Linked DNA regions of Homo sapiens: region 1 is linked to region 2. The links are contacts of gene promoters, found by promoter capture Hi-C in blood cells and fetal thymus (Javierre and others, 2016). All regions are on one chromosome and are shown on one strand. Each heading gives the region's core, a stretch centred on a gene start or on the middle of the fragment in contact. The rest is flanking DNA. Distances are from core to core; before and after follow the strand shown.

The links. Contacts are between HindIII fragments. The CHiCAGO score rates a contact against its expected background, and 5 or more counts as called.
Region 1: a contact is called between the fragment with the promoter of PPP2R1B here and the fragment with the promoter of NPAT in region 2, in 2 of 17 cell types (monocytes and total B cells). The highest score is 9.1, in monocytes.

What each region holds. Positions count from the first base shown.
Region 1 is chr11:111,765,072-111,768,697 of GRCh38, reverse strand. It overlaps PPP2R1B (protein phosphatase 2 scaffold subunit Abeta), which reads left to right and starts at 2,309. Exons shown (of 15, transcript NM_002716.5): 1 at 2,309-2,450; 2 at 3,314-3,404. The coding sequence starts at 2,337. It also overlaps a transcript of ALG9 not described here. RefSeq lists enhancers at 2,244-2,293, 2,314-2,493, 2,380-3,283. The HindIII fragment of the contact is 3,920 bases long and covers 1,603-3,626 here.
Region 2 is chr11:108,220,452-108,223,887 of GRCh38, reverse strand. NPAT (nuclear protein, coactivator of histone transcription) reads left to right here and starts at 1,250. Exons shown (of 18, transcript NM_002519.3): 1 at 1,250-1,388. The coding sequence starts at 1,352. It overlaps ATM (ATM serine/threonine kinase), which reads right to left and starts at 821. Exons shown (of 63, transcript NM_000051.4): 1 at 702-821. RefSeq lists enhancers at 335-414, 725-884, 1,295-1,354. The HindIII fragment of the contact is 4,203 bases long and covers 1-1,481 here.

The sequences.
Region 1 (3,626 bases), core at 1,060-3,559, 3.5 Mb before region 2:
GCAGCAAGACCCTGTTTGTTAAACACACACACACACACACACAACACAATAATTTTTTAAAATCCTGAAAACTCTCAGTTAAGTCATTATTATTATTATTTTAGAGATGGGGGTCTTGCTGTGTTGTCTAGGATGGTCATGAACCCCTAGGCTCAAGTGATCCTCCCACCTCAGCCTCCCAAGTAACTGGGAAGACAGGCACGCGTTACCATGTTTAGCTAAATTGTTTTTATTATGCTGTGGTTATTTAAATTTACGAATATAAAGTAGGAAAAATGTGCTTTTATTTCTAGTTCTTACACAGCTAAAAAAAAACCACAACAAATTTACAAATTAAATACAAATGAAACCACAAAATGAATACTATTCAATTAAAAATATTATAGTAATTTAACGTGACAAATGATGTATTTTGCTAAAACTGTCATCCGTCGTATTGTTACTATGGTGTTGCCTGCTATAGCTCAGCTTCTTTTGTGTTCAACATGCCTATGCCACCAAGTGACTCCTGATATCTTAATTTTCTCACCATTTTTCTGTTACAACTACCAAATAGTGCAATCTCATGATGCATTTGGCTTTCATTTTGTGCATGAAAGTATCATTGTCATTTTAAAACCACCTCTGTTCTTTTCTCATTATCCCAGAACAATAAAAGCAGCACTAAAACACACATGTAAATGTGGGTGCTGAAATTGTGTGGCAATACTTGGTTGTAAGGTGGTCACCCAAATAATTCAGAATATGCTTATACAAATCTAAAAAATATGAAAATGAAAATAAAATTAAAACCCTAGAGAATACATTCGCAGACATAATTTGAGAAAAACTGTTCAGGTCTGCTGGTTCCCAAACTTTCATTACTATCAAAGGCTCTAGCTATTGTGCTTACTTCCAAGAACCCCATTTATTTATTTATTTATTTATTTATTTATTTATTTATTTATTCATTATTTCATTCATTCATTCAAAGGCTCTATTGTGCTTACTTCCAAGAACGCTATTTATTTATTTATTTATTTTAGAGACGGGGTCTCACTCTGCCGCCCAGATTGGAGTACAGTGGTGCGATCCTGGCTCACTGCAACCTCTGCCTCCCGGGCTCAAGCGATTCTCATGTCAGCCTCCCGAGTAGCTGGGACTACAGGCTCCCGTCACCAGCCCAGCTAATTTTTGTATTTTTTAGTGGAGACAGGGTTTCACCAAGTTGGCCAGGCTGGTCTCGAACTCCTGGCCTCAAGTGATCCGCCCGCCTCGGCCTCAGAATCCCATGTTTTAAAAAAGTTTGTCTCCTACACTGCATTTATAGTTTTATTAATCAGGCACATAGAATTACCATTTCGGAGCTTGTGATCACCATATGTAGTTATCACTCCAAGCTGCTTAAATTCCAGTCTAAAACAAACAAAACATTCTAATTATTCTGTGCTACCCTGACAGGGGTAAGTGAAAACTTTCCATTCAGGTTTGTAAGAACGAGCTCCCAGACCTCCACCTCTTCCCCTTGCTGCCTCTGAGGACTCTTGGAGGTCTAGGGAGGCCAGTTTGGGTTTTCTTGCTCAAGAAAGTAGCCACCCCACCCAATTTGGAAGGATTAAAGCTTGTCCTAGTTTTGCTTCATTGTTGTACTTCTAGCATGCTAAAGAGCTAAAAAATGGGAGGAAGAAAATACAACAGAAGGCACCATTCCAGTACCAAACTGAAAAGAAACACAAAAACAAGAGAGCAGCATGTTTTTAACAGCTTGCGTGGAAAAAATATTGACTGGGGAGTTTGGACAGCACTGTTCATTTTCTCTCACCGCCCGCGTTATTTGTCTTACGGAGCAGGAGCCAGATACCATTCTGGAGAAAGAGCCGCGGGAAGAGGTGGAGGGGTTCTGTGGAAGTTTGAGTCTGAGCGGAGAAATTAGGGCTGGAGATCCAGTGGCTCAGGGCCAGGAAGAAGTCAGGGGAGGTGCTAAAGCCTTTTTCCTCCTGGCCTCGGGCACTCTCTTTGGTCCGCCTGAGTCTTAAGAGGGCACAGCGCAGATCATTCAGGTAGGTTCCTGGCTCCTTCAGACTACAACGAGCTGGATGAATCCCTGTCCCTGTTTCTTTCGGCTGGGGAAAGGACGCAGGGGTTCCATTCGCTTTCTTAGCCCACCCGTCTTCTTGAGTTCAGACCTACAACTCCTGCAGTGGGGGTCAGAAGGGAGCCTTAATCATCGGGACAGAAACGCGGCTCCCCAACTTCGGCTAAACCAGCGTGGCGGCCTTCGTCCCTACTGCCTGGGCGCGGGGCGGGGCCTGGGCGCGGGGCGGGAGGCGGTGACCAGCAGCAGGAGGAGAAAGAACATGGCGGGCGCATCAGAGCTCGGGACCGGCCCAGGAGCAGCGGGTGGAGATGGAGATGATTCGCTATACCCGATCGCGGTTTTAATCGACGAGCTCCGCAATGAAGACGTGCAGGTACTGGACTGAGGCCGGGGACCCGAGGCGAGACCGGCTGGTCGCGTGGTAGAGAAGGGGGAAGGCCTGCGTCGCGGTGGGGGTGGCCGAGGTACTGAATGAGTCGGACTCGTAGCAGAAACTTGAAGGGGAGGCGGGGAATGCTCCGCGAGGGGCTGTGGTGACACGCCCCGACCCTCCCGGGTACCTCTCTAGTAACCTTGCTTCGGACCCCCTGAGGCGTCCGCCCGGAGCCTTGCCCTTCCCGGGCGGTTGTCGGGGAACCCGCTTCCCGCCTGGGCGCCCCATCCGGGCCGTGAGGTGGCCGCGTCTCTTGGGCGAGGGAGCAGGAGAAGCGCGGTGCCAGGCCGAGACGGGGCTGGAGCGGCTGAGGGGCGCAGGATGCCCAGAAGCCCTTTGAAGTGCCCCTGGATCCCTTCATCTCGGCTTGGAACTGGCTCGGCTTGTTGGGTAGAAAGCGGGGGTGGGATGGCCGATTAATCTGGACGAGTAGTGTATCCGCTCTGTGGGAACTTTTCTTTGAAACCACAGGTGTTGTATTCAACCGTTTCACCTGCTTCACCACTGCCAAAGTGCTCTCTTTTTAAAATTATCTTACTTCCTAGGTGTTGTATTGTCTTTCCTTCATTTCTCTTCCGGTCCCTTCTGAGTGTTTCTCCTGGGAAATCCTCCGCCGGCTAGTGAGGCCGAGTTACACTTCTTTTTGGAAGTCCTTATGAGCTTCCTTAACAGTAAAATCTAAATGAAAGGTTATCTTCATTCTTACCCCTGTGTCATAATTTCACCTGTTAGCACCTTTTGTCTTTTGATCTAAATTCAGCCGTTTCTTTACATTGTTCTTCTTTCTACTTTCTTTTCTGAAGCTCCGACTCAACAGTATTAAGAAGTTATCAACAATTGCCCTAGCACTTGGAGTAGAAAGGACCCGAAGTGAATTGTTGCCATTTCTTACAGGTATGTGAATCTTTGTTTAAAGAAAGGTAGGGACATTCCATTTTCCAGTAGCTTTCAACACTGACTTTTTTAGAGTTTATTACCCACATTAAAATGAGCCAGGTGTTTTTTGTGCAAAAGAAACAGAACAGAGTATATTGTTAGTTGTGGCTAGATATATTCAAACATCAACCATTTAGCTATTGAAAGTAATTGATACGGGAGTATGAATTTCTAATTCGT
Region 2 (3,436 bases), core at 1-2,500:
ACACTTTGTGCCTTTACACGCATTTTTCCTTCCATCTGGAAGGCTTCTACCATCTGCCAAGGTAACACTGCGAGGTCTCACCACAAACTGAATTGATAGTCTCAGGCTGAGTTTGCAGAGAACCAAAGTCACTCCTCTACCATCAGAGTACTCCCCTATCACCACATACATTATCATCCACTGTAGTTGTCTTATCTGTACCTGGTAAATACAGCAGCTAACGCTCACGAGTGCTCACCACAGGTCAAGATTATCTCACTTATCTTCACAAGACAGTAGAGAGCGGCCACACGACTGACAGAATTCCAATTCCAGCCGTATGATTCCAGAGCCCAAGCTCTTAACCGCGAGGCTGAAGTTGAAATATCAATAAATGCTCGCTGACTAAAAGTACTAAATACGAGAGAGAGATCAAAAGATGACTAGTCAAGTCGCGTAGTTAAATCTGAACCCTAAGGTGACACAAAAAGAGGATGCGCAGGAGGCAGGGTTCAATTCAGGGCGTTTAAAAGGAGGAGGTTATTGGCCAAGTCCGCTAAGCACCCGGAGAGAGGCCAGGAAAGATGGAGTGAGGAGAGGGAGGAGTCAAGGGCCACTCTGGAGGGGTGCATGAGATTGGCGGTCTGGGGAGAGGACAGACTGGGTCGCACACGACTGAATTTCCCAGCGCAGAAGCCGCTGCGTTGCCTCCGCGCCCCTACCACTGCACTCGGAAGGTCAAAGTAGTATCAACCGCGGCGGTGGCTGCAGCGCAGATCCCGACTCCTCTCGCCTCCTCCCGCGGCCACGGCTTCTTTTCTCCGTTAGCCACGCAGCTACCTACTCCCGCTTCCGGTTCAAACCCTGCGTGACTGCCCAGCGCCCACTTCTGGAGGAAGAAGCAACGCCAAGCAGCCGCAGAGCACGGTATGCCCATGCGCATCCAGTATCACGCGGTCTCCGCGCTCAAAACACTGCCCCAAAACATTCGGCCCGTCGGAGCAAACGCGCCTGCGCCATGTCCACCAATGGCCAGCGACTTAGCGTTTGCGGCTCGCCCTTCGGCTCGGGCTCCGGGGCTCTCACCCACCCTCTTCGCCCTCGTCGTCCTCCCCGCCCTCCTCATCCCCGCCCCTCCAAGTCTGAGGACGGAAGTGACGACAGTTCCGAAGGCGAACGGAGGCGGGTTTCATTTCGGCGCCTTTCTTTCTCTGGCGGAAGCGATTGGCTGCCGTGAAGCGAAAGAGGCGGGACAAATTGCCGCGAGTTCAGTGCCGCCACTGGAACCAGGAGATGCGGCGCAGGAGCTGTCGCTGTGTTTGCTTTAACCTGAGTCTTGTTCCTTATTGTGGTTCCTGCTGTGGTTTTGATCATGTTGTTACCCTCGGACGTAGCCCGGCTTGTATTGGGTAAGCGCGGACGCGGGATGGAGGGTTATTGGACCCGGCTATGCTGGACAGAAGGACCTTTGAGGCCAAAGGTTTTCCCTTGGTAGGGAAGCTTTGGGGTTTTGCCTCCCAGCTTACGAGTTGAGACTGGCGGTGATTCTTCGTCATTCGGAGGTTCTGGGCAGTTTAAGCCTCTTTGTATGTAGATGCTCCTCTCTTCAGAGGCTGCGTGGCGAGGGGAAGCCCGAGGGGAAGCTCGGGGTGGAACACCTGGGGCGGATTCGGAAGGAAAGTCAGGCCTCCACACTTAATTAGGACCCCTGAAAGAGCATTTGTCTGCATGACGGACGGATTGCGTGTGCTTCAACCTTGGGCGCAATTTCCTTGGTTCAGTGTTGGGACCAAAATAGGGCAAATAGGGAGTTCCCCGGCCCCCCATCTTTGTAGAGAGACCTTCCTGGCGCCCTTCTAATAACCCGCCCTTATAACTACGAATTTGGGAGTAGGGGTGATCTTCCTTCTCCATCCTCCACGCAATACGTCGTCCAGTGTAGAGGTGTGAAATGCCAGTTGCATATTTTAAAACAGCAATTCCTGTTCCTTTGATCAGCGAAAAATTTCAGAGGGTTAATTGCCTTAAATTAGTTGAACGTTTTCTAGCCCTAGTTTTACCTTCATTTGAGGAGGGATTGTTTGTGGGTCACTTGTCTGTCAGGGTGTATTGTCTGTGTGAGAGACGGGTTTTGTTGTTGTTTGTCCCCTGAAAGAATAAAGAGGATTGTACTACAGGGGACGAGAGCCAGGTAAAGCTCAAAACCCGAGCCAGTAATTTACGGACGTCGTATGCGACGTCCCTAAAAGTAAATGGCAAGCATCTGTGATGAAACCTCCCATAGTATTCACAGCCATTACTACTATTATTTTATTGTTCGGAAAACCCATTTGTCTTGTGCCTCTTTTAAATGCCCAGCGCTGTCCACAAAAATGTTATTTGCGCAGGGCTCTTGATAAGCACATTTTGCAGGAAACGTTAAACGGAAATGGTTCCACCATCCATTTTTGAAGAAACTTAATGACAAGTTTAATGTTTTGTTAATGTCTGATTAATCTTTTGCTTAAGAATTCTGAGTTTTGGCAGTTTGGTAATCTAGTTGAGTTTCGGTAACTATAGTCTTAAACATGGTTTCTCAGCCTCAGTACTGTTAACATTTTGGGCCTCATAATTCTTTATTGTGGGGAGCTATCCTGTGCTCAAACATTGTAGGATGTTTAGCAGCATTCCTGGCTTCTATTCACTAGATTACAGTAGGACACCCGTTCCCCACCCTACCCTTACCCAGTTGTGATCAGTGAAAATGTCTCTAGATATTGCTAGTATGTCCCCTGGAGGGCAGAATCACCCCTAGTTAAGAAAGCCCTAAGAAAGCAGTATCATTTTCTAATTGAAATAATTCACATCGATGTGTGAGTATTCTTTCTCCACAAACCAGCTACTCTGCTGACTTCCTGCTTTTCATTTAATGGACAAAAAACGCCAGCCATGGTTTTCTTATCTTAAAAATCTTTGTCATTCACATTCCATTTTCACTGCCACCAATCCCGCAATGTGCCTGCCATTACTTCTCTTTTGGACTTCTGTCATGGCTTCCCAGACAGTTGTCCTCGCAATTCATTTTATTTACTGTTGTTACAAATCTCCCTGAAGCTTTCACACTATACCTTTTAGTCTGAAAGTTGAGATAATTCTATTCTTACTAAAAATTTCAGATGGGCAGGAGTATACAATACAAAAAAGCCTCCCCATGCCTAATGCTCTTACTTTTGTCGTTTATCATTTTACATCTTAAATAGATACATATCGTGTATATCTTTCTCATATGAGGTTTATTATTTACTCATGATTCTTTTCCTATCAGTACCCCCTCGCCATCTTCAGCTCCTCTTGTTATTGGTCCCTTCATAATGTTTTTTTTCTAGCAAATCTTTGGGTGCCTAGTATGTTCCAAACACTGTGCCAATTGCTGAACATAGAGAAGTTAAGTTTTCTCCCCTTAGTGTTCAGATAATTA